Linked DNA regions of Homo sapiens: all the other regions are linked to region 1. Evidence: promoter capture Hi-C in human tissues and cell types (Jung and others, 2019). All regions are on one chromosome and are shown on one strand. The core of a region is centred on a gene start or on the middle of the fragment in contact, and the rest is flanking DNA. Distances in the headings are between cores, read along the strand shown.

Region 1 (2,645 bases), core at 71-2,570:
CAGGCACGGGGGGGCACGCCTGTAGTCCCAGCTACGCCCAAGGCTGAGGCGGGAGGATCCCTTGAGCCCAGGAGTTCGAGGCTGCCGTGAGCCGTGATCGCACCACTGCACTCTTGCCTGGCTGAGACCTGTGAGTAAGGGCCAGGCACTGCAAGATGCTGCTTAACATGCACCGCAATGTCGTTTGCCCCGGGTGTTCGCGGTGAGGCTCGGATCTCTGAGAGCCTTTCTATCTCTGTCCGCCTAAGGTCTCATTCGCCCCCAATGACTGGATGGTGGCACTTCAGGCAGTGCAGTGAAGTGAATCTTTTCAGTAACATTAGAGTGATACCGCTGTTATAACCTAAAAATTCTCTCTTAAAATACACCACAGAAGGTAATTGCCACCGACTTCTCCGAATAAGGCCCGGGAGGTGGGGCAGGAGGCGCCCCTGAACCCTCGAGGACTCAAGCCTGGCGGGACGCTCCGTGGGTGACGGAGGCGGGAAGGGCCGAGGCGCCTGCATCTCTTAGAGCGCAGCCTCACACTTTCCCCTCCACCAGCCCGAACCTGACCACAGCCTCATGTCACCTCGCGTGCTCCCCCTCCTCGCCTCGGGCCGGTGGTGCCGGTGCGGTGCTTCCACGAGATCGCTCCTGGGTCGTGGGCCCTCGCGCGCGGGGATGGGGGCTGCCCTTCCCAGTCGCCCGGAGCCACTAGCGCGCGTGAGGAAAGGGCCCGATCCCTTCTCCGGGTGTCTGGCCGGCGCGGGAAGGAAAAGGCGCGCCCACCCCGGCTCTCTCCGAGGCCCTCACCTGGATGGTGTGGCCGCTGCCTGGGGCGGTGGGGCCCCCGACCAACTTGCAGTAGAGCTCGGGCTGGGGCCTCCCCTCGCCGGGTCCCCTCTCCCCGCAGGTGGCGGTGGCCCAAATCCTCGCCGCCTCGGCCAGGTTGAAGTAAGTCGGGTGAAGGCTGAGCCCGGCCGCGGCCCCGGGATCCCGAGCGGTCGCCCCGCAGGCTGGCAGCACCCGCAGTACCAGCAGGAGCAGCGGCGTCGGCGGCAGTACTGGCCCCAGTGCCCGACCCCGAGGCCGCGCGGCCGCCGCCATCCAGCCGCGCGGGGTCCTCCCGCCTGAGCCGTCCGCAGAGGGGCTCGGGGGCACCGCCGCTCTCCGCCTGCGCCTCCCGGACCTGCAGCGCCAGGACTAGCGCAGCCGGGGATATGGGCGGCGCCGGGGCCGCTCCCCTTGCTCCACGCGCTGGAAGCCCGCGGCGTGGGGGTGGCCTCTCAGCTCTGGAACCTGCCGCGGCTGGAGCGGGCACCAGCCGGATCAGGAACTGACAGCGCTCAGCCGCGCGCCAGCAGACGGCGTCTCTCCCGCGCGAGGCGCGCTGCAAACTTCGCGGGCGGGGAATGGGAGAGGCGTTCCCGGGCTCCCACCCAGGCGGCGGGAACGGGAGCCTGGGATCTTCGAACCCTCCAGGCGCCAGGACAGAAATTAATTAGATCGTTCTCCTCTCTGGATACTCACCGCTCAGGTCAAAGCCAGAAAAGCCACCTGTGACCTAAGAGTAAAGGAGGCTTGTAAACGAATTTGGTTGAGAGCAGAGGAAACTGCCACTACCTACAGAACTCACATCAAAGACATTTCGATTTCCCAGCCAAGTGTTGAGTCGTCAACTCCTCAACACTGTGCACCTAGGATCCCTGTGGCACTGCAGCCACAGGCTGAGCCAGGGAACTGGGAGTGGTGGAACGTACATATTTAAAAGACAGCCAATAATGCAAGTTGTAATTTGCCAACCTGGAAAGGAACCTTAGAGGAAATCCTTTAGATGCCTAATCTGCTCAATTTTACAAATAAGCTAACAGAGATTGAGTGAGGTACGCCACCTGCCATGATGGCCTCAGAACAGAGAAGACCCCCTCCCCCCACGACCCCGGACTGATGCTTGGTCTTATATGCAGAACACCCTACTAAAACAGAACCCACATAGGCCCTCGAAGAAATTAGAGGAATGCAATATTTGTACAATAAAAATTGCAAAACCTCTTTGAAAGAAATGTTAAAAGACCTAAATGAGTGGAAAAGCCTCCCATGTTCATGGATTAGGAGACAATATTGTGAAGATGGCAATATTTCCTAAAGCAACCTACAATTCAACACAATGGATTTTGATAGGGATCAAAATCCCGACTTTTTTTTTTTTCAGAAATTGACAAGCTGATCCTAAAATTCATGTGGAAATGCAAGAGACCTAGAAAATCCAAAACGATTCTGAGAAAGAATGAAGTCAGTGGACTCACGCTTCCTAGTTTTAAAACTTAATACAAAACTACAGTAATCAAGACAGTGTAGTACCGACATAACGATAAACATAGATCAATGGAATAGAATTGAGAGCTCAGAAATAAACCGTTACATTTATGGTCACTGGATTTTCAACAGGGTGCCAAGACTATTCAATGGGAAAAGAATAATATTTTTAATAAACGCTGCTGGGAAAACTGGACATCCCAAAATAATCTAGTAGGATCCCCACCTCATACTATATGCAAAAATTAACTCAAAATGGATTTAAGATCTCTAAATTTTACATTTAGAGAGCTAAACTATAAAGCTAAAACTATAAAATTCTAAGGGAAAAACACAGGAGAAAATCT
Region 2 (2,645 bases), core at 67-2,566, 340 kb before region 1:
GAAAAAATAATTTAAAAGCATTTAAAAACTCTACCATTTATAAACATTAGGGAAATAAAAAAGTTAGCAAAACATTTATTTTACAAACTCTTATTTAAAACATTGAGCATTAAAGGGATTTCCTTTTTTGTAAGAAAACTTATCAAGAGGATTTTGAGCAGGGCGTGCCCTCTTCTTGTAAGATAATGTATGATGTAAAGTACGCATCTCTGTCGTACTTTGAACTGTGACACTCCTTATGAAGTTTGGATTAGCTTCAGGGTAGCCTTTGTGCTTTCGATGTTGTGAGATCTTTCCAAGAGTTCTTTGAATGGGAAGTTTTTCTTGGCCAGTGTCACCTCCTCTGGGACATCTGCATCTTTTTTCTTACAACCTTCCTCCTTTATGTTTAATAAACTCCCCTTCACTAACTGCCTGTGGCTGCACATCCACAGTCCCTCAAATAGGGGCAGTGTCAACATTCCAGGTCAGCTATTCCTTCCATTTAGATATCATTCCAATTTCAGTTCCAGTGTTACCACTTTTTTCTTTGCTGCACTTTCATCTTTGTTGGCCAAAGTCCTCTTTCAATTATCCCTTTGAGTAAAATGTCAGTGGGTCTATCACTAGGAATGAAGGAAGCAACACAAGGACACTCTTTGCTGTCTGTGAACTGAACAACAGAGGTGCAATGACCAGTCACAGACAGACTCTGAAAGAAGTCACACGATTGGCTACTGATCATGTTACATACATAATGATTTGTGGCCTGAAAAGCTAGTGGCTACAATTACTCAAAGCTCATACACAGTAGTAACTGAAAATTGAACTGTGTTATTGGGGAACTGGTGTTACTTAACTCTGGAAACTGGAATCTGTGCATATTAGAACCAAGTAAGGCCAGGGCTGTCTGTGCATGATTACAAACTAAGGTAAGAACCCAGAGGATTCTTACAGAATGCATAGCAAACAAATGAGGCTGGAAGACCAGAGAAAGCCTCTCCAGGAAGGGAAGGTGGAGTTGAGGTTGAAGGATAAGTAGAAATTGAGTCAGCTTGGAGGAGAGATTCAACGTGCAATGAAAACCCTGTGTCAGGAGGAAGCAAAGCAAAGTCAAGAATCTGAAAGATCATGGTAACTACAAGTCAAAGAGTAAGGAAAGAACACAGCAATGGAAGACAAGGCTACCAAATGGCATAATTGGAGAAAGCACTGGTTATTTATTTTATTTATTTATTTATTGAGACAGAGTCTCACACTGTTGCCCAGGCTAGAGTACAGTGGCATGATCTCAGCTCACTGCAACCGCCGCCCCCCAGTTTCAAGTGATTCTCATGTCTCAGCCTCTCGAGTAGCTGGGATTATAGGCATGTGCCACCAGGCCCAGCGAATTTTTGTATTTTTAGCAGAGACAGGCTCTCGCCATGTTGGCCAGGCTGGTCTCAAACTCCTGGTCTCAAGTGATCCACTCGACTTCACCTTCCAACGTGCTGGGAATACAAGTGTGAGCCACTGCACCCAGCCAGCATTGATCTTTTCAATGAAGGTTAATATGGATTCTAAAGCTGGTTAAAACGAAAGCCATTGCCAATTTAAAGCTATTTTACTTTTCTGTTTTTCTACAAACCCCTGTATAAAAGGGGGAAATATGAGTCTATTTTATAGCATGAGCTAACTGGGATTTGTACAGCCACAACCTAGAAATCATACAACAAAATCATTTTAAAATACAGGTTGGGCAGCCTAACCCACAAATCTGAAACCCAAAATGCTCCAAAATCTGAAACTTTTTGAGGGCTGGCATGCTGCCACAAGTGAAAAATTCTACACCTGATCTCATGTGACGTTCACAGTCAAAATGCAGTCAAAACTTTGTTTCATGCAGAAAATTATTTAAAATATTGTACAAAATTACCTTCAAGCTCTATGCATAAAATGTATATGAAACATAAATGAATTCTGTGTTTAGACTTCGGTCCCATTCCTAAAATATCTCATTATGTATAAGCAAATATTCCAAAATCTGAAAAAATCTGAAATCCAACACATTTCCGGTCCCAAGCATTTAGGATAAGGGATACTCAATCTTCATATGAAAAAAATGAGATAAGGCAGTGACGGTCAAGGGGCAAACCAAGCAGGCCCAAGCTATGCCAGATAAATCCTGCCACAGATTTTGGTCCTAATCCTAAAAGCAATGGGAGGCTGAATTAGTTTTCTGTGGCTGTTGTAATAAATTACCATAAACCTGGTGGCTGAAAACAAGAGAAATGTATTCTCTTACAGTTCTTTAGACCAGAAGTGTGACATCAGTGTCACTGGGCTGAAATCGAGGTATCGGCAGGGCCACACTCCCTGGGGAGGCTCTAGGGGTGAGTCCCTGCCATGCCTCTTCCATCCTCTGGTGACTGGCTGCATTCGGGCTTAGGGCAGCTGTGGCTCTAATCTTCAAGGCCAATGTCTTCAAATCTTGTCTCTTGATGTTTCCATTTCGCCACCTTCTGCGTGTGTGTAAAATCTCTTTCTGCCTTCCTCTTATAAGGATACATGTGATTGCATTTAGGGCCCATCGAGATAATCCGGGATAATCCCCCATCTCAAGATCCTTAACTTAATCACATCTGCAAGGCACCTTTTATTCTTTTCCTTACAAGGTAGCACTGAGA
Region 3 (2,645 bases), core at 67-2,566, 260 kb before region 1:
CACTTTGAAAGGCTGAGGCGGGTGGATCACCTGAGGTCAGGAGTTTGTGACCAGCCTGGCCAACATAGCAAAACCCTGCCTCTACTAAAAACACAAAAATTATCCAGGCGTGGTGGCATGTGCCTGTAGTCCCAGCTACTTGGGAGGCTGAGGCAGGAGAATAGCTTGAACTTGGGAGGCAGAGGTTGTGGTGAGCTGAGATCACATCACTGCTCTCCAGCCTGGGCAACAGAGTGAGACTCCATCTCAAAAAAAAACAAAAAAAAAAACAAAAAAAAAAAACAAAATTACAGGCTTGGGGCAAGGGGCAACAGCAGTAATGGGGCCTGGGCTGACCTGACAAGTGCTCCTTTCCAGCAACTGCCTTTCCCCACATGCCAGTGCAAAGGGCCTCACCATCTCCACTGTCCAGCCAAGAGCTGCCCTGCCACTAATTAAGAAGTGAATGTTCAGAGCTGACACAGGGCAACACATTATAGAAGTCAGGACAAGAGTTACCTGGAGCACCTCCAAGGTGTAGTGGCTCTTGAGTGCTGGCAGGTGGGAAGGGGATCTGTCCAGCTGTGTAGCTACTGTCTGTGTCCAGTTCCAGGTGCAGGATGTGTTGTTTTATGGTGACTGGGGAAAGGAGGCTGGTTAGGTCTATCATCGGAGGTGAGCCCTGCTTAATGTCTACACCATTGACTTTGTTTTAACTCCTTCATACTAGACCTGTGGGAGTGCTGTTTGCAGAAATTTGGTCAGCTTAGATATAAATTCAATTAACTTCCTCTAAACACCAGGTAGTGCTTCCACGTACATGAATGAATTTTACCCTTAAAATGAATCTGTGAAGAAGAAATTATCATTCCCCATTTCCCAGATAAGAGAATGTGTCTCACTGAGGAGCCTGACAAGATGGCTTGGTTACCAAGAGTTGGGATTTAAGCTCTGGTCTCCTGTGTCCAGAGGCCATGCTGATTTCATGTGATCTCAGCTACTTTCTATGAAGACACTGACTTCTGAAAGCTGATGCCAAAGACAGCTCTTTTGACTCTCGACACAAAATTCCTCTCATGTTAATGATCTCAGCTAATTGCAATGTAGTTATCTTTTAAATTAGCCAAGAAAAGGCCACTTTTTTACAAAAGGTATTTTAGCCAATATGGGTTCATAGATCTCTAATATCCACAAATAATTAATAAAATAACAGATTCTTTTTGAGAGGAAATGCTTGCTCTCTACTCATCGGGTTGTCTAAATAGTTAGCATTAATATTAAATGGTTGTTGAAAAAAATAACACAACAATGAGCCTTAACAAAAAACAGATACTTACTGAACACTGACTACATATCAGACACTGGGCTAATAACCTTTCACACATTGTCCCATTTAATTTCCACAACCTTAAGAGCCATACCCTATTTTTATTTCCATTTTACAGAAGAGGAAACCGAAGGTAAAGAACAATTAAGCAACTTGTCCAAGGTCACACAGGGAAAGGGATGGAACTAAGATTTGACCTCTGTTCTAACTTCAGAGCCAAAATCTAAATCACAACGTTATACTATCTTGAAAACTAGCCTAGCTTATTAGTGTGCTGGGCTCCAAAAACAAACAAACAACAACAACAGCAACAATAAAATATTTGATAAGTTCTGGAGAACTGGAGGTGGCAACCATGAGTGACGGAAGCATGGCTGGGGTTGTGAATGGACACGTTAGCCTCGGGGGCTGGCCCTGGTCAGGCACTGTGGATGGAGGGGCTGAGGCTGCCTTTGGGATGTTCAAGTCAAAATGGAAAGGGGGCCTGTTTTAGTGCATGAACAATCAGCTACTGGACAACATACCTGCCACCGAGTGCCACTGTCCATCACACAGAGACTGCTTTGGTGTGACCGACGTTGAGGTCCCACCTGCCCCACTGTCCATAGAGGCCGTGACCTGGAACACACATGCATTTTCCTATTTCCTTCAGGAAGGCAGGTGGAGCCGACCTTCCCCTGCCATCTTCCCTCCCCAAACCGGGCCAACTGACAGCTTAAGGGCACATTAGATATTGGCCCTCCTCCGCTTTTGAAGCATTTGACCACATGGGGTCCAATGCTTCCAGAGATCTCTCTGCTGCATCCCTTCCAGGCAACTATAAACCAGGGTGGACCCTGGCCTGAAGTCGTTGCCAATGGCAATGAGTTGTTCCCTTCTAATCCAAACCCCGCCCCCATCAGCTCAACTCAAAGGTTACTGATTGGAATCCTCCTTAGCAATTAATGCGTGACAGTGGCTCTGTATGGAAGGATATGTGAGATGTGGAAGGCAAAGCTACTGGTGGAGGCCTACAGCCTGCTGCAAGGGCCAGCCAACTGTAATAGTTCCATGCATGGCAAGACTTTAAACAAGCAAAATGATTGAGTTTGCTCTGGGCACGCATCGGGAGCCAGGCACGCAGTCTGTTTTGTGCAGAATCCCACATTCCTGCTTTCTAAATCAGGGTCTCCTCCAGGATCTTCCAAGAGTTGAATCAAGGGGAATGAAATGAGAGGACTAAAATAAGTGTGTTTATAAATAATTTACATTTAATTTGCATGTAGCTAGATGGGACAGCCTATTCACAGGCAATTTTTGAGCTAAACAATGTCACTGCTATTATGAAGGTCATCGGGTC

The links. Contacts are between HindIII fragments. The study calls those that stand out against the background at their distance.
Region 2: a contact is called between a fragment that was not itself captured here and the fragment with the promoter of LAMA3 in region 1, in 1 of the 25 tissues and cell types used here (lymphoblastoid cells).
Region 3: a contact is called between a fragment that was not itself captured here and the fragment with the promoter of LAMA3 in region 1, in 2 of the 25 tissues and cell types used here (dorsolateral prefrontal cortex and spleen).

What each region holds. Positions count from the first base shown.
Region 1 is chr18:23,688,128-23,690,772 of GRCh38, reverse strand. LAMA3 (laminin subunit alpha 3) reads right to left here and starts at 1,320. Exons shown (of 75, transcript NM_198129.4): 1 at 796-1,320. The coding sequence starts at 1,089. RefSeq lists an enhancer at 1,412-1,961. The HindIII fragment of the contact is 10,376 bases long and covers 1-2,645 here.
Region 2 is chr18:24,031,829-24,034,473 of GRCh38, reverse strand. The region is part of intron 1 of TTC39C (tetratricopeptide repeat domain 39C); the gene reads right to left. Among named protein-coding and RNA genes, the nearest start is that of TTC39C-AS1, 18 kb to the right of the region's middle. RefSeq lists an enhancer at 611-660. The HindIII fragment of the contact is 6,682 bases long and covers 1-2,645 here.
Region 3 is chr18:23,950,963-23,953,607 of GRCh38, reverse strand. It overlaps LAMA3 (laminin subunit alpha 3), which reads right to left. Exons shown (of 75, transcript NM_198129.4): 73 at 1,831-1,924; 74 at 499-618. Among named protein-coding and RNA genes, the nearest start is that of LINC02958, 30 kb to the left of the region's middle. RefSeq lists an enhancer at 1,319-2,179. The HindIII fragment of the contact is 4,679 bases long and covers 1-2,645 here.